7 separate regions of the Homo sapiens genome follow, and regions 1, 2, 3, 5, 6 and 7 are each linked to region 4. Evidence: promoter capture Hi-C in 16 types of primary human blood cells and fetal thymus (Javierre and others, 2016). All regions are on one chromosome and are shown on one strand. The core of a region is centred on a gene start or on the middle of the fragment in contact, and the rest is flanking DNA. Distances in the headings are between cores, read along the strand shown. Region 1 has its middle 14 kb from the start of MIR4470. Region 2 holds the start of UBE2V2 (ubiquitin conjugating enzyme E2 V2). Region 3 overlaps ASPH (aspartate beta-hydroxylase). Region 4 holds the start of PLAG1 (PLAG1 zinc finger). Region 5 overlaps GGH (gamma-glutamyl hydrolase). Region 6 has its middle 3.3 kb from the start of YTHDF3-DT. Region 7 has its middle 4.5 kb from the start of TRY-GTA5-1.

Region 1 (2,700 bases), core at 113-2,612, 5.5 Mb after region 4:
ATCTCTGGTGATCTTCCTGCCTCAGCCTCCCAAAGTGCTGGGATTACAGGAGTAAGCCACCATGCCCAGCCTTGCATTTTTTACTTATTACTGAAAAAAACCTTTTTATGATTAGTTATCCATCTATTTATGTACATATGTACAGTTGGAATTCATTCCAAGGGCTTGCAGTTGAGCTCTCGTTCTATTTTATTATCTACATATGTATATAAATAGATGGAAATAGATATTAATGACACCGGGCATGGTGGCTCACACCTGTAATACCAGCACTCTGGGAGGCCAACATGGGAGGATCACTTGAGCCCAGATGTTTGAGACCAGCCTGGGCAACACAGTGAGACGCTGTCTCTACAAAAAATAAACAAAAATTAGCCAAGTGTCATGGTGTGCGCCTGTAGTCTTAGCTACTTAGAAGGCTTAGGTGGAAGAATCACTTGAGCCTAGGAGGTAGAGGCTGCAGTGAACTGAGATTGCACCACTGCACTCCATCTTCAGCAACAGAGCAAGAACCTGTCTCAAATAAATAAATAAATAATAGACATTAATGAGCAATGAGCATTTATTATGTGTCTGGCGCTAGTGCTTGCTTTACATGAGTTTATTGTCACAATCCTCACCTCACCCCTATGAAATAGATGTGATTGTTATCTAAATTTGATGAACAAGTAAACTGAGGCACCAAAAATGTTCAAAGTCACACATCTAATAGTCAAGGCCACGCATCTGATAAATGGCAGCTTCAGGATCTGCACCCTGGCAGTCTGGTGCTAGTGCACAAGCTTTCCCCTTCACATGATCCTGATGATTCTTACCCAAACTTGGAGACTTTGCAGGGGCTTGCACACTTGAGCTCTTGTTTTCCTGAGAGCTAACATAGGGGACTTAGGACCCAGTTCCTGAGGTCAGCTGTAAATGTATTTCCAAGAGCTTGCAAAATTCAGGGAGCTGAAATGGCTGTGGGGAGGGATGATGATGGACCCTGCACAAAGGTGGGATTAAGAATTCTGAAAAGCACAGGAAAATCCATACTGGAAAGATGATGGGATGTAGTCCAGAGGTCAAAGGTCAAGAGCTCTTATGGGAACAGCAATGGGCAAACATGCTTAATGTTGAACTGGCTACTTACAAGTGACACCTTGCAGGGAGGACATGTGCTCTATGTCCTGATGAGAAGAAATGCTAGAATGCTGAAGAACCCTACCTCCAGAGACCAGACCCTGCCCAAGGTCCTACTGGTCTTCATTAAAGGCAGCATGTCAGTTAGGATCCGAGAGAGGCAGATGACAAGACAGAATCAGACATGTAAGAGGTATATTAAGAGAAACACCTGAGAAGGCTGAAAGGGCAGGGAGCAGGAGTAGGGGAGGGAATATTTGGCCTGTGATGCAGCCTGATTCTTGTAAATGGAGAAAGAAAAGGAAAGAGGACTGGATAGGAGGAGCCATAGATGGTTCAGAGGAGCTCACAGAAAACCTCAACTAGGCCAATGGGAAACTCTGGCAAAGTGTGATCGTTAGAGCTCTGTCCTATACTGGGCAGAAATGGCTGAGGTCTGTTACTGCCACCATACTTAGGGTGGGAGCAGTGGCCTTTGGTGTAAATGCCAGGACAAATCTGAAGGCGTGGCAGCCAGGGTCATTGGCCAACTGAGCTTCTCGAGGCAAGCACCCTTCAAAGGCAGTCTGAGGGGTGCACTCCCATGACCACCATAGGCACTTACTCTGGGCTATTTTCAAACACCTCACTAGGTGTCACTAGCCCCACTGAAAGATGGAGAAACATGCTCAGAGAGGGTGAGCAACGTTTCAGAAGTCACACAGATTGTAAATGGAAGATGGGATCTGAACCAAAGTCTGTCTGTTTCTGTTTGAACACATGGCCTCTCTAAGATATTTGTAACCATATTGAGGTGCTTAATAAATCCATGAATTAGGTAAGGGAAGCTTTGAATTACCATAGGGCAGAGAAGAGGCATTTCAGACAGCATAATTTCATCAATAAGCTCAAGCATGGAAAACGAACTAGCAAAAACTTCATATGATCAATTCAGATAGTAGGTCATTGACATTCATGATTTAAAATTAATGGTTTCAACCATTTGTGAGACTCCCTGGTTTGTAACTCAAAATAAATTCAAATTTTATTAATAAATACAGTTGAATATTCCAGGAATAAGCAAGCTGATATTCCTGAAAGGCCTACATAGCCAGAGAGAGAACCTCATAGCTAACTTACGAACCTTGCCTCGACTTAGCTTCCTTATCCTGAGTCATTGTCTCACATTCAGAAATGTTCATAAGGTGAACCAAGCTCTATTTCTTCTTGAAAAGTGGCCAAAAAAGAAGCTGCTAATGCTAATGATGGAAGTGAAATACCTAAAGGAGTCCTTAGCTAAAAATGAAAAGGTTTAGATGAGTTAGAGTATAATGCCAAATTTATCTGTGGACAGAGTCATACCCCAAAGGGGTTTACCATGTGGTCCTTTAAGAAAAAGATATTTGAGACCCCATTTCCAGACAGTGCTCTGACTACCACCAAAATTGCTCACTGAGCAAGGGAGAGATCTTTAAGGGACTAAAAAGGAAGAGGCCAGTTGGCTGCATTTTATGTCAAATCTTGTAGGCTATGGGGATATGTGTGAATTTGAAAGATTCCTAAAGGTCCTATATTTATCTCAAAAAAAACCATTAAAGTCAA
Region 2 (2,700 bases), core at 146-2,645, 8.2 Mb before region 4:
ATGCCTGGCTAATTTTTTGTATTTTTTTTTTTTTAGTAGAGACAGGGTTTCACTGTGTTAGCCAAGATGGTCTTGATCTTCTGACCTCGTGATCCGCCCGCCTCCGCCTCCCAAAGTGCTGGGATCCATGCCCGGCCAAAAGCATTCCCTTTGAAAGCCGGCACAAGACAAAGATGCCCTCTCTCACCACTCCTATTCAACATAGTATTGGAAGTTCTGGCCAGGGCAATCAGGCAAGAGAAAGAAATAAAGGGTATTCAATTAGGAAAAGAGGAAGTCAAATTGTCTCTGTTTGCAGATGACATGATTGTATATTTAGAAAACCCCATAGTCTCAGCCCCAAATCTTCTTAAGCTGACAAGCAACTTCAGCAAAGTCTCAGGATACAAAATCAATGTGCAAAAATCACAAGCATTCCTATACACTAATAACAGACAAACAGAGAGCCAAATCATGAGTGAACTCCCATTCACAATTGCTACAAAGAGAATAAAAATACCTAGGAATACAACCTACAAGGGATGTGAAAAATCTTTTTTTTTTTTTTTTTTCAGTTTTATGTAGAGACTAGGTATCACTATGTTGTCCAAGCTGGTCTCAAAGTCTTGGGTTCAAGCCATCCTCCTGCCTCAGCCTCCCAAAGTGTTAGGATTACAGAAGTGAGCTTCGGCGCCCAGCCTGTATTACTTTCCTTTTTCTTTCTTTCTTTTTTTTTTTTGAAATGGAGTCTCCCTCTGTTGCCCAGGCTGGAGTGCAGCGATTTCTGCTCACTGCAGCCTCACCTCTTGGGCTCACGTGACCCTCCCACCTCAGCATCCCTAGCTGTTCAAATTTATTGTCCAACTCTTTTGAATCGTTTATCAACGCAAATCTGTCAATGCCCACTTATTTTTATTTATTTTTTTGAGGCGGAGTCTCGCTCTGTTGTCCAGGCTGGAGTGCAGTGGCGCAATCGCGGCTCATTGCCCCTCCGCCTCCCCGGTTCAAACGATTCTCGTGCCTCAGCCTCCCAAATAGCTGGGATTACAGGCGCGCGCCACCACGTCCGGCTAATTTTTGTATTTTTAGTAGAGACGGGGTTTCGCCATGTTGGCCAGGCTGGTTTCGAACTCCTGACCTCGGGTGATCCGATCGCCTCGGCCTCCCAAAGTGCTGGGATTACAGACGTGAGCCACCGCGCCCGGCCCTCATGAACTTATTCTTTAGCGTTTCATTTTGAGAGCGGGATTCACAAGGGAATTGCGGAAACAGCAGCGAGGCCCCGCGACCCCTCGGCCCACGTGCGCGCTGTCCCTCGGGTCGCCCCGCGCCCGCCGGGGGCGGAGTCCGCTGTGACGCGTGCAGGGCGGCGCGCTCCCGGAAGTGACGCGCGACGGTTCGTGCGTGCGTGCGGGCGGCTGCGTCGGGCTGCAGGAGAAGATGGCGGTCTCCACAGGTCGGTTCCCGGGCCGGGCTGCGTGATTTTCCGCTCCGACCCGGCTCTGCCCCTCCGTCTGCTGCTGGCGCCCGAGCGCTGACCGTGCGGGAGAAGCCCGAGTGCGCTGTCTCGAATGCCGCGCTCTCCGCAGAGCGTAGCCTGGGACCGGGTGGGACCGGCGCCGAGGCCCCGGCGGCCGTCGGGTTGGCGGGTCGTGCTCGCGCGTCGGCCGCGCGCCGGCGGGCTGGGGGCGGGGTGGCTCCCGCGCGGGCGCCCCCGTAGGTTCCGGCGGGCGCGGGTCCGAGTTGTAGGCTGAAGGCTCTACGGGAGGGAGGCGAGGAGGCCCAAGGTGGGCGGGTGTCAACCTCCGGCACCGAAGATGGGTCAGGCCAACCGGCACCGAAGATGGGTCAGGCCAAGAGGTGTCCTGGATCAGAGTAGGGGTCCCATTCCTTTGGACTCTCCTTGACATGGGTTGGGGAGTAGAGGACGATTGCTCCTTAAAATAAGAGCGAGAGGATCTTTCTTACCTGACTGAATACGTGTGATCTTTTTATTATTTATGAGGAAAACTGCAGTGCAAACAAAATAAAAGACCAGAGCAAGATGAAAGCTAATTGAAGAACAAGTGGTTTCTTAGATAAGCTGTTCAACTCCTCTTTCCTACTGAATACAATGTTTGGTTTCCTGTGAGCACACAAGTATTAACGTTGAGGTTTTAGACATTAGACCATTTCAGAAATGTTAAAAACGTTAAGCTTTAGTTTACATTTAAAAATGTTAACCCGTGTGATCTGCCTTTTTCTTTTCTTTTCTTTTTTTTTTTTTTTTTGAGTCAGAGGCTCACCCTGTTGCCCAGTTGGAATGCAGTGGTGTGATCTCGGCTCACTGCAACCTCCACCTCCCAGGTTCAAGTGATTCTCCTGCCTCAGCCTCCCAAGTAGCTGGGATTACAGGCGCGTGCCACCAGGCCCGGCTAATTTTTGTATTTTTAGTAGAGACGGGGTTTTGTCATGTTGGCCAGACTGGTCTCGAACTCCTGACCTCAGGTGATCCGCCCACTTCGGCCTCCCAGAGTGCTGGAATTACAGGTGTGAGCCACCGCGCTCGGCCTGATCTGCCTTTTCCTAGTCTTCGTTGAAACAAGAGTATAGAGCAGTGTGATTTAATAGTTTATGCCATCATTGCATAATAAAATGAATTTTCAAATCTATATGTACTGAAATGGAAGGCTTTGAATATATGTTGTAATTGTTGCTTTAGAGTAATACCTCAGGATACAT
Region 3 (2,700 bases), core at 32-2,531, 5.5 Mb after region 4:
AGGTGGTTCAGAGATCTAAATGTAAAAAAGCAACGTTTCAGATCTTTTAGAGGAAAATACAAGAATAATTCATAACATCTGTGTTATGTGTCTTACAAAAAGTATAAAGGTGTGAACCACAAAGTACAAAATGGAAAAATTCTATTAATATATTAAAATCTTAAAATTCTGTTCAACAACGTATACCATAAAAAATGAAAATGTGAGTAAACACAGACTAGGAGAAGTCCTTTATCAAAAATAATCAAAAGGTTCAGGATATTAAAAAAAAAAAATCTACCTATCAATACTACAAATACAAAACAAAAACAGAAGAATAGGCAAGATATACGAACAGGCAATTCAAAGGAGGAAACACAAGGCTACTCTTACCAGTAACTTCACTAGTAATTAGAAAAATGCAAGTTTAAACCCTCAAGTACTACTTCACAGCCACTCAACTGGCAAATATTAAACTTCACCAAATGTTGACAATGTGATGATGGCACAGAACAAGCTCTTATTCATTAGGGGCAGAACTGTAAGTTGATACAACCACTTGGGGGTTAAAAAATGGCAATATCCAGTAAAGTCTAATGTGTGTACTTTCTATGACCCACAATTCCAATTCCAGATTATGCCCTAGAAAAACACTCAGACATGTATGCATGGGGAGAGATAGGCACATACATGTACAGGGCAGCATTATTTGAAAGAAAAAAAGTGGCCTGCGATAGGATGGCTAAATGAAAAGCAAGGCATATTCATATGGTGTAGAACTACATATGTGAAAATAAAGAACTGGAGTTTGGAGGAATTTCAAACAAATGCTGTCAAAATAGTATGCCAAGTAGAAGCCTGTTCACAAAACTTTTAATACGTGCTATACAGTATATATACATATATGTGTGTGTGTGTATAGGTATATTTCTACACATAGGGATATAGATATACTTCCTGGGCAGTTTTCAAATACATTGATTTAATAATAGATACAGTTTACATGTGTGGATACATAATGTGTATGTGCTACATGTTATATATTATTTTGTGCATATATACCTGTATTTATGATAATGACTACCATAAAATGTTTAACAATGGTTAGGAAGGAATACCACAGGAGAGGAAAATCTAGGAATCTGATAATGTTTCATTTCTTCGCCTATATGGTCAGTACATGGGCATCCACTGCATTACTCTCTACAATTATTTATAGGCTTAAATATGTACTATTTCAAATACATACAATTTTAAAGAGCAATACACAGAAATATTTTTATTATAAAGGTTAGAGAACTAGCTCTCTGCCAAAAAGCAAATCCATGAAACAACTTACAAAAACTCAGTGACAAGCATCTTATACAAATTGACTTGATTCAAAGAATGGAAAAGTAGTTAAATGCTAGATATTCTTTCAACAAATATTTACAACACAGATTTTGAGGTTTATGTAAGTCAAAAAATTAAGTGTCCTAAATAAAATTTACAAGTGAAACTAAGACCAAAAGAGTCTTTCCAGTATACCAAGAAAATTGAAATTGAAAGCAGCCTGTGAAAGATAGGGACAAAAACTGTATATTAGAAGAATAATAAATAAGAAAAAGAAGTTACAGACAGGATAGAACAACAAAATAATAGTGACTCTGCACTATGGAATGGTAGAAATGGCTGTCAAACCTATGTAAAATATGAGAAAAGGCAGTTACAACAATGCTGGTTGTGAAATAAAATTATCAAAGGATATTCTCCTACTTTAAATTTAAGACTGATCCTTGGGGTCTTAAGTACAGGATGAGTCACTGGGTTCAACGTGTGGGCACACATGTAGGAGAGAAGTGCTGGCATTTCTCCAAGTACAGAGATAGTGGCTGCCCTTGGAAACCTGACTATAACTGGACAGCAACCACTCCCACCCCCCAGCCCCCCACCCCTCAACCAAGTCAATTCACCAATGCTCTCCGCTCTGGAGCACACATAGTATCTACGGCAGATGATGACAGTCACATGACTAGGCAAGTGACCTGAATCTCACAGGGGGCCGAATAGCCCAGATCCTTCAAAAGATGATTTTCTTTTTAAAAAGAGTTATTCACCAAGGGAGCTCAACATTTCCTTTGAGTCTAATAGGTTATCTAAACCAAATTTGTCCTCAGCTGTGGCCAATTTGATAGGAACTGAATTACATTCAGTGATTTGCCGTTAAAAGATAACCACATCAGCCAAAGGTAACCAAGACACATCCCTGAAAAACAAAGATCAAATGCAGGACAAAAGCCTGAAGCATCCCTCACATCAGGGGAATAAAATACTAAAATTTTAAAAATAATGACTAACAAGAAAATACCATCTTGGCTCCCAGCAGTACCAGAAGAAAGTATAATTAAAAAAAAGTTAAAGCACTGGCCTCCAGACTATACTCCCACAGTGGTACACAGGGAAGAAAAGAACATCCTGAATCCTTAGTCCTCTAATAAAAATGGCCAGAGCTGCAGGACCGAACCAGAGAAACTCATCACACCCACATGTGCAGTGCAGAGCAGACACTGGCAGCAGATAATGAAGCAAGCAGCCCTTGCACCTCCACATTTCCCGATAGATGGCTGAGGCTTTTCCCCGGAGGTTTAGGTGGGGTGTACATAGGTTATATGTACATACAGGGTTTATTAAAGAGAAGTTCATTTGAAAAACATTTTTGTACCTTGGTACAGAATGAAGTCA
Region 4 (2,825 bases), core at 96-2,595:
TTTTTTTTCCACCCAAAAAAACCCCGCAAAGATCATTAAAAGAGAGTTATAAAATAGCAAATATAGTGTTTATCTTATCTGAGATCAGTCCACATTACCAATAAGTTTAGCAGTTTCTGCACTACCACCTCCCCCCTCGCTCCCCCTGCTTCTCTTGCATCGGATTTTCACGTTTTCTCATTGTCGGTTGAGTTATAAAAGGCTTTTGCCCTTCGAAAGTTTTAAAAAATAAATAAATATTAACTCCTTGGTCCCTGCAAAGTCAAAATGGACTTCAGGGGAAAGGCGGTACATACTTTTACCTTTAGCGAGAAAAGGGGGAGCATCCCGGATTTTTAGGGATTTTTTGCGATTTTTTAAAAATTTTTATTTGGTTATATGCCTGAGTTCTCCCTCCATTTTGGTTGTTTATGATACTGACAACAAGCTGTCCCTGCTCTGTGCCGATCTCCTGCTTTCATTTAGCACCCCCTCCCCCTACCCCCCCTCGCAGCCACACACCCCGGGCTCACACCTCCCTGCAGACCCCGCACCCCGACCCCGGCTTGCCCACCTGAGGAAAGGGCAAAAACAAATTCATTTCTCCAGAAAAGAAAAACCTCTTTTGAAAAAGGGGCAAAGTTACCCCAAGTCACTCAAAGTGCCCCCCAAATATTGCCGACTGCGGGTTTCCGCCAGGCCCTTTGGGAAGCGACCTTCCCCCGGGATGTTTTGGTGGAAAATGCGGAGAGTTTACTCTCAAAACTGAATTTATATTAATTTTTCCCTTATTTTTCGGGTCTCTAATGTCTTCCGCTCTCGCTGCTGCCGCTGCCGCTGTCACAATATTCACAGCACCAGAGAGGAGGAGGAGGAGGAGGAGGAGGAAAACTTTTCAAACTTTCCAGACCCTGAATAAAGGTTTTTTTTTTTTTCCCACCGACCTCACCTTCGGGTCCCCAGCCGCATCGCCCCCTGCCCTGTCAGAAGCGACTTCGGGAGTCCTCGCAGCCCCGCGTAATTATTTTATTTTATTTTTTATTATTATTTTTCTCTCTGGGGTCCTGAGCAGGGGCTGAGAGTAGCACAAACTTTTCCTCCTCCTGCCGCCGCCGCTGCTCCTCTGCCCCCTCGGCTAGTCCCATAATTTAAATAACCCTGATATTTCTCCCGCTAAACGCCTCGCCGCCGCCCCGGACCCCCGGAGAACTCACCGCGGGGCTTTAACATCCTCCCTCCGGCCCGTCCGCCGCCTCTACACCGCCCGCGGAATTTCTAATAATTTTTTTCTCATATTTCGGGCTGGACGCGGCGGGCCTGGAAATTGTTTCCTTACGCCTCTTTCCAGCAGCCATTGTAGTGTATGCGCTGCCCCTGCAGCCCAACTTGCAGCTGCCGCCGCCGCCGCCGCCGCCGCCGCCGACGTCGCGCCCACCGCTGCCTCCCCCTGCCTGTTCGGCCACCGCCCCCGCCTCCCGTCGGCCCGCCCCCAAACCCCGCCCGCCGCTGCGCCCGCCCCCCGCGCGCGCTCCGCCCGAGAGCTGGCCACTCGGAGCCGCCGCTGGCGGGAGTTGGCCCGCCCATTGGGCCGCGACGCCGCCCGTCAAGCCGAAGTGTTAAGAGACGGGCCGCGGCTGGGGGGCGCGGTGGGGCGGGGGAAGAGGGGGCGGGGTCGCGCTCACCGCCCCGCCCACTCCTCCCGCCTCGGCCCTCCTTTCGCCAGGCGGGGGCGGGGCGAGGCCCGACCGCCCCTGCGGCCCAGGGCCCCGCGCGGCTGTCAGTCTGGCGGCGGCGCGCGCCGATTGGGCGGGCTGCCGCCGGGGAGCGGGGGCAGCAAGTTGGGATGCGCGCTACTTAAGGTCCTGCTGCGTGAGCCATTGACGTGTTTGGAGCTGGAGACGGCCTGGGTGCTGGCGAAGCGGAGGCCGGAGGTGAGTGGTTCCCCCGCCCTACCTCCGAAGCGGCCGCAGAAAAGCGGGGAGAGAGGGGTGCCCTTGGGCCGTAGCGGGGCCCGAATGCACTTCTGCGGCGCGGAGGCGCTCCCGCCAGGCTTCGCCGCAGCGCGGACCTCTTCCCGTTGCTCTTCCTCCCGCCACACGGGTCTGTTCGCTCCGGGGGCGAGGAAGATGACCTCTGCCTAGTCCGGGCAACCCCAGCTCTTCTTCCACTCTCCTGTGTAGCCTCTGAAGCGCAGTTACCGGCCCCACCCCCAGTTCCCTGCGTTTTCCTCGCCCCTTGTCTCTCTCGGCATGGTCTCGGCACAGCAAGGTGTGTTCACCTGTGCGCGCCGTCCAGGATCAGATGCTGACGGGCTACACCGCGGAAGGCGGCGAGGCCTCGGGTTCGCCCTTCGTTTCTCCTTGCCCTGCGCGCCCACCTCCGGCAGGCCACCCTTGACTTCTTGCCCCCTTCCACTTTGCACCTGGCAGTGGGTTAACGGCACGGCGTGTGCAGCTTCCGGGTTTAGCAGAGCCGCGGACCCTGCCTGGGCTCCGACCACGGGGCGTGTGGGCATGAACGTGTTCAGAAACGTTTCCTTCCCCCTGCCCTTTCAAAGCTACTTAGAGAGGGGGGACGTGAACCACTGGATGGGAAATCAGGAACTGCTTTATTAAGCAGTTTGCCCTTTGGAGTGGATTTTAGAGTTATCCCCTGAATGTGCTATGGTTTTGTGGCCCCTCCTTCATATCTTTGCTTGGTTTTTCTTTCTGGTTATGCTCTGCAAGTAGTAGAGCCTTGTAACATTTATTTAGTACATTCAAAAAGTAATAGACAAGGCCCCTTTAGCGGAGCACTCGATGTTGTAATTCAGCCCCGCTCCTCACTGTAAATTGACATTTCCTCTT
Region 5 (2,700 bases), core at 158-2,657, 6.8 Mb after region 4:
ATAGGATTGAATGAGTTGGGAAGAAGAACAGATTTCAAGAAGAGGTGAGAATTAATAACATAGAAACAATGCCCATAAAAAAAAAATAGGACAGAGAGAGACATCAGAATGTCTACACTACATGAGGACACGGTTCACATTAACAAGCATCAAGAGAGGGGCAGTCAGCAGTGCTCTGAAGGGTCTCTGGAAGCCCAGGATTAGATGAAGCACATGGAAAATAGGCGGGAGCAGCCAAGAACAGGCACCTCAAAATTAAAGGTATGATGAGGCTAAGGGTAATTTTGAAGGGAGCATTACCATCTGCTTAAAAAATGAACCACTCGCACAAAAACTTACAGAAACCCATCTGGAATAATAAGCAATAACTGATATTTACCTGTATGGACAAGTTATAAAATATTTTGGCCACTTTAGCATAATCTGAGCGTCTGAGGTCAACACTTCCTCCAGGGAAAAGGATTCTGAAACAACGTTACATAAATCAAATAGGGTGTATTTTGCCACCCCCGACCCATACACACACAGAAAACAATCTTTTTATTTTAAAACAATTTTTCTTATTACATATGCAATAAGATCCTTGAAGAAAATTAGAAAAGTAAAGAAAAAAGAAAATATAAAATATTTACAATCCCATTCAGAAACTACAGCAGTTAACAACACTTTAGTGCATATTTTCCAAAAACTTCTTCAAAAAATTTATTTAATGAAATAGAGTGTGGGAAAATTAAAAGTAAATAAGTAGGGGAGGGGCAAGAGTACACAGAGCTAGACATCAAAGACAGACAAAATTCCAGGTATAGCCAGGTTTAAATGAAGGTGATCTGTGATGCCAAATCAATTGCAGGTCCATAATTATGGGTAGGTTTTAGCTCACAAATAATTTAACTATAAAGAACAAGCTGGTCATAAAAATATATTTAAGCTAGAATTAAATTTCTACAAGAATTTAATTCTTATCACCCCGAGTCTCTTCAGAAACACGCACAGTATTAGAACATTTTTTTCAAGAAACATAATTACGATTCTAGAAAAAGCCTAGGAAAAGAAGGCAGTCAAAAATATTTGATATTATTTTACACACTTATAAAGGTGAAATATAGAAAAATATTTTACCATGTTTTTATATCAACTTTTAAAATTAAACTTTAAATTTAAAATTTATAGCAAGGTCTTGAAAGAACCAAGGATATTCAAAAGAGGTAAGAAAAATGGTATTAATCATATTAAAATTTTGAAAATATTTAAATACGAGCTTGAGATATGTGAAATATCACTTGTGTGATTGTTGTTATTCAAGAAATATATTCTGTTTCTTCCATGAGCTAGACTCGACTTGCCTGGAGAGACAAACATGAGTGGCTTTTGCTGTTAGGAAGATCACAGTCTGGTAGAAAACATATAAGCATCTGTGTGGGAGAATATCTACCACAAATCCAAGCAGAAAATCCAACAATTAAAAGTGGCTTAGTGAAGACTCATTAGCATTCTCTCTTTCCATTAACTCAGTATTTTTTTTTAATTTTTATGTTTTGCATCCCAGGTCTCCAGCTTACAGACATTAACTTAGTATTTAAAAAGCTGCCTATGACCAAATACGGTATGTCTAACCCCAAACTCCTTTCATGCAGCAAAACCTGACTGTCCCTCCTATATGACAAACTCCTTAAAGCATGGCTCTGTCTTTTCATCTCTGCATTCCCCTGCAAAATACTATGGGGTCCACTGCATAACAGTGACTCAATAAAGGTGCTTTTGAAGTCACATTAGAATACGGCTCATTTTCTGGTGACACTCAGAGATATAAATAAGGCCCCTAATTTAACCCACTTTGGAGTGCAGCTTTCAGTGACTACATGAGAGAGAAAAGGGGCCTACAGGAGCAACAATTAGTGGCAATGCAGAAAACGAGTGAGGAAGATAGAAAATGGACTCCTTTTGCTGGTTTGCATGAAGACATACTGAGCATCTGGACAGGCTAGCTCCCCAAAGTATGTATTCCTGTCTACACTGCTACTTGATTCAGATTCCTCTCCAAACAGGAATGCAACTGGGGAGAGGGTGGGAAGAAAATGAAGTGTTTCAAAAGGTCTATTTTTGAGGTTCTACTATTATATTCTAGCCTAGACTTAATGATCTTTGTCCATGCCAAAGTACCTTGCACACAGCACATACTGGGCATTGTAAATGTTTTACTAAATTGAACTGATTTTATGGTAAATATTTACTGAACCAAACTGAACTGAAGGCAAATAATTTTCTAAACATAGCTTTTTAAAAGAAACAATAAATTAACATGGTTTTAGAAGTAAAAATAATAAAGCTCTTTTAAAAAAACATTTTACAGTAAAATACTTCCACCCTATTCCCAATCAGAAACAACTGCCATTAAAATCTGCTGTGTTGATTTGGTAGAAATATGCATATCTCTTCACCCCCACCTTTAACAAAAAGCAAACGGGGTGTATGCTATACACACCATCACGTGCCTTGCCTTTTTCACATAACACTATCACATTGTTCATAGGACAATGGTGATCTAAGTCAGCATCTACAGATAGCCGCATTTTTTAATTCCTGCATAGTATTCTATTGAATGTACATAGTCTGTTTTATTTAACCAATTCTCACCTGATGGATTACGGGGTGACTGTCAGACAATACTACTAATACAATGCATAGATTTGAGTCTAAGTC
Region 6 (2,700 bases), core at 160-2,659, 7.0 Mb after region 4:
ACTGGTAAAATTCAAAGATAAGTTTAAGTGCTGCTAGTTAACAAAGCAAATCCAGGAAATTACTAGGCACAGAGTTTATTACTAAGTATCCCCCCACCCATTCTCCCCCTCTTCCTTAGTAATAAACATCCTCATTTTTAACTGAACACATGGCCACTCAGAATATATTTTCCAGCTTTCACTTAACTTTAAATACTTGTAGGAAACTATGTTTTAGTTAGTAGAAAGTAGCCAGAAATGTTAATATAGTTTGGATGTTTGTCCCCTCCAAATTTCACAATTAAATGTAATCCCCAGCCGGGTGCGGTGGCTCAAGCCTGTAATCCCAGCACTTTGGGAGGCCGAGGCGGGCGGATCACAAGGTCAGGAGATCGAGACCATCCTGGCTAACACGGTGAAACCCCGTCTCTACTAAAAATATGAAAAATTAGCTGGGCGTGGTGGCAGGATCCTGTAGTCCCAGCTACTTGGGAGGCTGAGGCAGGAGAATGGTGTGAACCTGGGAGGCGGAGCTTACAGTGAGCCGAGATCGTGCCACTGCACTCCAGCCTGGGCGACAGAGCAAGACTCCATCTCAAAAAAAAAAAAAAAAAAAGTAATCCCCAATGTTGAGGGTGGAGAGGCATTTGGATCACTGGGGCAGATCCTTCATGAATGGTTTAGCACCATCCCCTTGGTGATGATTGAGTTCTTTCTCTGAGTTCACAGAAGATCTGGTTGTTTAAAAGTGTGTGTCACCTCCCCCATCTCACTCTTGCATCCATTCTCGTCATGTGTAAGCTAGCTCCCCCTTTGCCTTCTGCCATGATTGCAAGCTTTCTGAGGCCTCATCAGAAGCCAAGCAGATGCTGGACCATGCTTCCTGAATAGCCTGCAGAACAGTAAGTCAATGAAACCTCTTTTCTTTATAAATTTCCCAGTCTCGGGTATTCCTCTGTAGCGATGCAAAAACAGACTAATACAAATGGGAAAAATGCAATTTCTACAAAATGTCCTTAAAGGAGAACAATGTGCTTTCTTAACCTTGTTTTTCTGCTGGTGGGAATGTGATTAGGATGGCTGGAAGTTGAGCAGCCATCATGGGCCACAGGTAGAGGTATCATAATGAGGATTGTTAGATATGAGTTCTAAATTTCTTTTCAAAGAATCAATATGTCAGTATGTTCAATTCTTTGCCTTTTACTTTTAAACTTAACTTCCTCATAAAGCAACCTTTTTCGATTACCTGCTCCATCCTGACTCATTCTGATTACCTACTCCACCCTGACTCATTCCAATTACCTGCTCTGTCATAACCATTTTTCCCGCCAAACCACTCACCCTGTCAGTCTCTTTAAGTTAGCCAGTCAGAATTAGTTTAGCCTGTGCGGTCTAACCCTAGCCAATAGGGGAACAACACAGCAGAAGGGGCCACATGCGTCAGGGATAGAACCCCTTCCCTTCCCTTGTCTAAGTCTGTGCTCACCGTTGTTCCATCTGTAAGGGTGCACCCTTCTGTAGAAGTAACTTGCCTTGCTGAGAATTAAAAAGTAAATTCTATATTCGAGTGCTACTTCTTTTGTGGCAACAAAACTTTATTTATAACAGGATGGTGGAACAACAGACTAGAAGAAGCCTGGATTATCTGATACAATGGCAACCCAAGTCCTGGAGTATATCCAGACTGCTGTTGTATGAGAAAAACAGATTTCTATCTTCGGCTCCTGTTATTTTGAACTTGATACCACTTGTAGCTGAACCTAATTTGAACTGATACAAGTAATCATACAGAAGTTACAGTTGTGCAGACTGGAACTTCACTGTCTGTAATTTCAGCACTTTGGGAGGCCAAGGTGGGAGGATCCCTTGAGCCCAGGAGTTGGAGACCAGCCTGGGCAACATAGCAAGAACATGTTGCTATAATTAAACAACAAAACAACAAATAACAACAACACACGCACACACAAACACCAAAGTTGGCTGAGGGAAAAATGGGGCCTTAAATCCAGCCTGCCCTCTCCTTTCCAAGCTTTGCACTGTGCTGTGTGCTCCAGGAGACTGACACACCCTAGTGGCTCTTTAGAAGAGTGCATTTTTACCTAGAAACTAGGCTCTGTGGCAACATTTTTCAAAATATCCTCTCCATTCTCCTTGCCCAAGACCATGGGAACCCATCTCTTGCATCATCATGACATGGATGTGAGACCTGGAGTCAAAGGGGATCATTTTGGAGCTTTAAAATTTGAGTGCCCTTTGCATGGGCCCTGTAACCCCTTTGTTTTGGCCAATTTCTCCCATTTGGAATGGCTGTATTTACCCAATATCTGTACCCCCTTTGTATCTACGAAGTAGCTGGCTTGCTTTTTATTTTACAGGCTCATAGGCGAAAGGGACTTGCCTTGTCTCAGATGAGACTTTGGACTGTAGACTTTTGGGTTAATGCTGAAATGAGTTAAGACTTTGGGGTACTGTTGGGAAGGCATGATTGGTTTTGAAATGTAAGAAATGAGATTTGGAGGGGCCAGGGCAGAATGATATAGTTTGGCTATGTCCTCACCCAAATCTCAACTTGAATTTATCTCCCAGAATTCCCACGTGTTGTGGGAGGGACCCAGGGGGAGGTAATTGAATCATGGGGACCGGTATTTCCCATGCTAATCTCATTATAGTGAATTAAGTCTCATGAGATCTGATAGGTTTATCGGGGTTTCCCACTTTTGC
Region 7 (2,700 bases), core at 158-2,657, 9.9 Mb after region 4:
TGGATGGTCATCCTAAAGACATTGTTTAATCTTTCTGGGTAGAGCTTCCTGATCTGTAGAATGGTTTCCTTGACTGAAAGGAAAAACTTGAAAGCTCTTTAGTGCACATATGTCTAAGGAATAATTTTTCAAATAAACAATGGCTTTTTTTTTTCACATTTCACGGAGTCTTGACACACCTCCTTGGAGCACTGCTGTTAACAAATTTAAGGGATTTCACCTTTGGATTTAGAGGTGAGAAGAGAATAACCTTTAATAGATGAAACGCTTTTCTACTCCCAGAATGTCCATTTTCTGACCGTACTGGCATCAGAACCTGCCTTTCAACCTCCTTCCTCCCAGAGTAGCAGCTGCCAGCCCAATATCCCTAACCCAAGTGTCCATCTGAGGACAGAGAGACCAAGCAGTGCTACAGAAAGCCCTGGCTGTGATTCAGGAGGCCTAAGATCTCATATGCCACTTCTCCCCTCTGTTACCTTGGATAAGTCATTTCACATATTTGGGCCTCAGTTTCTTCATTCTTAAGCAATTTTTATTACAGAATATCTATAATTAGATGACAATTATGGGACACTCTGACCCATACGTGTTATGTAAAATAACTTACATATGGTTAAACAAAAATGTAATGATGTCAAAAAATGCAGAAACAAAAGCAAATTTCTTCACCATCCCCATATAGTTTGTTAGGGCTATCATAACAAAATATCACAGACTGGGTGGCTTTTAAAAAGATAAATTTGTTTTCTCACACTTCTAGAGGCTAGAAGTCTAAGCTCAAGGTATTGGCAGGTTTGGTTTCTTCTGAGACCTCTCTCCGTGGCTTGTAGATGGCCGTCTTCTCCCTGCGTCTTCCTGTAGCCTTCTCTCTATGCATGCATGTGCCTGCTGTCTCTGTATTCTGTTCTCCTTATAAGGACACCAGTTGTATTGGATCAGGGTGCACCCTAATGACCTCATTTTTGCTTAATTACCTCTTTAAAGGCCTTATCTCCAAATACAGTCACATTCTGAAGTACTAGGGGTTAGGTCTTCAACAAATAAATTGGGGTGGGGAGGGAAGACAGAACACAATTCAGCCCAACAACAAGCATGCCATCAATTTCTCAAAATTGTGCCATATTTCAGTTTGCTTTATATTTGAACCACGTATTTTTTATAAAGTTTTTTTTTGTTTTTTTGTTTTTTTTAGAAATCCCTGAGTATCTTCGTTCTGTCTTTTTGAGAAAAGTGACATGTGCCTTTATCATATCTCTAAGGTCTCCCAGATCCTTAATCACACTACTATTGTAAAAGAATCCGCTTCTTTTTGAAAAATAAACTTCCCAGAGCCCTCTAACTTTTTTTTCCTCCCCTTAATTTGTCCTGATTGCTTTCTTTGCCAGCTGCATCACTGTCAACCTGAGATTTTCTTTTCATTGAGTCCCTGGGTTGGTTTCCTTTTTTCTTAAATCCTGTGTACTCCTCCTTCTTGGATTCTTACTTTGCTTTGCTGAAGTACATCCATGGCATACACAGAGACATGCTGCTAGACTGCCTTTCAAGAAAGAACTCACTGCCCAGCTGCAAGGAGGATGGTTAACTAGTAGCCATCAGGTGTTAACTCCTCTAGCCAAGGTTCTAAGCCTCTGGCCAATGACTGAGCAAGGTGGTGATGCTAGGGCCCCACCATTTCTGCCCAACTTGAGACTCCTCCAAAAGGAAATCTTTGCTCTGGAGCCACCAAGAGGGTTGGCAGAAACTTTGTCGGGTCTGCATCACTGTCTAATGACTACCCCTACCCAATCCTGTGTCCTCCCCTTTTCCATTCACAGATGTTACTCCCCTGTAAAATGTTGTGCTCTAATTCTGCATGAGCTTCAGCTTACTGGAGAACCCATCCAGTACAACATCCTCAAATAATGTTTACTTACTTTTTATTTGTTTCAGAGAGGAATCATAGATTTAAACTTTATGAGACCTTGCAACTATGAACTATTAGTCCTCATATGTGATTGCTACTTTGATTGGCATACAATTCTAGGCTTAAAATTATTTCTTTGCAGAGCTTTGAAGGCCATGCTCAACTGTCTTCTAGCATCCAGTAATGATGATGAGAAGTCTGATCATAATCCAATTCTTATTCCTTTGTAGCTAGCCTAGTTCTTGTTTAGATTTTGCTTTGTTTTCCTCCATCTCTGAAAGTTACAGGGTTTCATCTTTATCCTCAATGCTTTTGAATGTCACTAGGCTGTGTCCAGGCATGGTTATTTTTCATTCATCCTAACTTGCATGATCCTTTCCATCTGATGACCAATGTCTTTCTTTTATTCTTACCCCTGCATTGTCTCTGTTTTCTCTTTCTGGAGCTCATATTAGATACTCTTTATGTCTTCAGGATCTATCTTTTCTTTTTTTTTTCTTTTCTATCTTTTTTTTGGTGTGTGTGTGTGTGTGTGTGTGTGTGTGTGTGTGTGTGTATAACCAGATCTCACTCTGTCCCAGGAGCTGGAGTGCAATGGTGCAATCAATCATAGCCCGCAGCAGCTTTGAACTCCTGGGCTCAAGAGATCCTTCTGCCTCAGCCTCCCAAGTAGCTGGGACTACAGGTAAACACCACCATGTCTAGCTAATTTTCGTATCTTTTGTAGAGATGGGGGTCTTGCTTTGTTGCCCAGGCTGGTCCCAAACTCTTAGCTTCAAGCAATCCTCCCGCCCTGG

What was found. The method cuts DNA at HindIII sites, captures the fragments that hold promoters and counts their contacts. A CHiCAGO score of 5 or more calls a contact.
Region 1: a fragment that was not itself captured here is called in contact with the fragment with the promoter of PLAG1 in region 4 in 2 of 17 cell types (activated CD4 T cells and total CD4 T cells); the score reaches 5.6 in activated CD4 T cells.
Region 2: the fragment with the promoter of UBE2V2 here is called in contact with the fragment with the promoter of PLAG1 in region 4 in 3 of 17 cell types (naive CD4 T cells, activated CD4 T cells and total B cells); the score reaches 8.5 in naive CD4 T cells.
Region 3: a contact is called between a fragment that was not itself captured here and the fragment with the promoter of PLAG1 in region 4, in 7 of 17 cell types (naive CD4 T cells, total CD4 T cells, fetal thymus and 4 more). The highest score is 12.8, in naive CD4 T cells.
Region 5: a fragment that was not itself captured here is called in contact with the fragment with the promoter of PLAG1 in region 4 in 1 of 17 cell types (total CD4 T cells); the score reaches 6.1 in total CD4 T cells.
Region 6: a contact is called between a fragment that was not itself captured here and the fragment with the promoter of PLAG1 in region 4, in 5 of 17 cell types (total CD4 T cells, non-activated CD4 T cells, activated CD4 T cells and 2 more). The highest score is 15.9, in total CD4 T cells.
Region 7: a contact is called between a fragment that was not itself captured here and the fragment with the promoter of PLAG1 in region 4, in 1 of 17 cell types (naive CD8 T cells). The highest score is 9.9, in naive CD8 T cells.

What each region holds. Positions count from the first base shown.
Region 1 is chr8:61,727,763-61,730,462 of GRCh38, forward strand. No RefSeq gene overlaps it. Among named protein-coding and RNA genes, the nearest start is that of MIR4470, 14 kb to the left of the region's middle. The HindIII fragment of the contact is 1,164 bases long and covers 781-1,944 here.
Region 2 is chr8:48,007,036-48,009,735 of GRCh38, forward strand. It overlaps UBE2V2 (ubiquitin conjugating enzyme E2 V2), which reads left to right and starts at 1,396. Exons shown (of 4, transcript NM_003350.3): 1 at 1,396-1,435. The coding sequence starts at 1,420. RefSeq lists silencers at 1,102-1,361, 1,592-1,791. The HindIII fragment of the contact is 2,629 bases long and covers 1-2,173 here.
Region 3 is chr8:61,706,977-61,709,676 of GRCh38, forward strand. All of the region lies in intron 1 of ASPH (aspartate beta-hydroxylase), which reads right to left. Among named protein-coding and RNA genes, the nearest start is that of ASPH, 6.3 kb to the right of the region's middle. The HindIII fragment of the contact is 5,713 bases long and covers 1-2,700 here.
Region 4 is chr8:56,209,928-56,212,752 of GRCh38, forward strand. PLAG1 (PLAG1 zinc finger) reads right to left here and starts at 1,346. Exons shown (of 5, transcript NM_002655.3): 1 at 1,194-1,346. It overlaps CHCHD7 (coiled-coil-helix-coiled-coil-helix domain containing 7), which reads left to right and starts at 1,862. Exons shown (of 4, transcript NM_001011671.3): 1 at 1,862-1,910. RefSeq lists silencers at 1,331-1,890, 1,733-1,958 and an enhancer at 1,971-2,040. The HindIII fragment of the contact is 9,849 bases long and covers 1-2,825 here.
Region 5 is chr8:63,026,802-63,029,501 of GRCh38, forward strand. It overlaps GGH (gamma-glutamyl hydrolase), which reads right to left. Exons shown (of 9, transcript NM_003878.3): 4 at 380-464. Among named protein-coding and RNA genes, the nearest start is that of GGH, 11 kb to the right of the region's middle. The HindIII fragment of the contact is 6,105 bases long and covers 1-2,700 here.
Region 6 is chr8:63,163,797-63,166,496 of GRCh38, forward strand. No RefSeq gene overlaps it. Among named protein-coding and RNA genes, the nearest start is that of YTHDF3-DT, 3.3 kb to the right of the region's middle. The HindIII fragment of the contact is 1,193 bases long and covers 814-2,006 here.
Region 7 is chr8:66,107,505-66,110,204 of GRCh38, forward strand. No RefSeq gene overlaps it. Among named protein-coding and RNA genes, the nearest start is that of TRY-GTA5-1, 4.5 kb to the right of the region's middle. The HindIII fragment of the contact is 6,679 bases long and covers 1-2,700 here.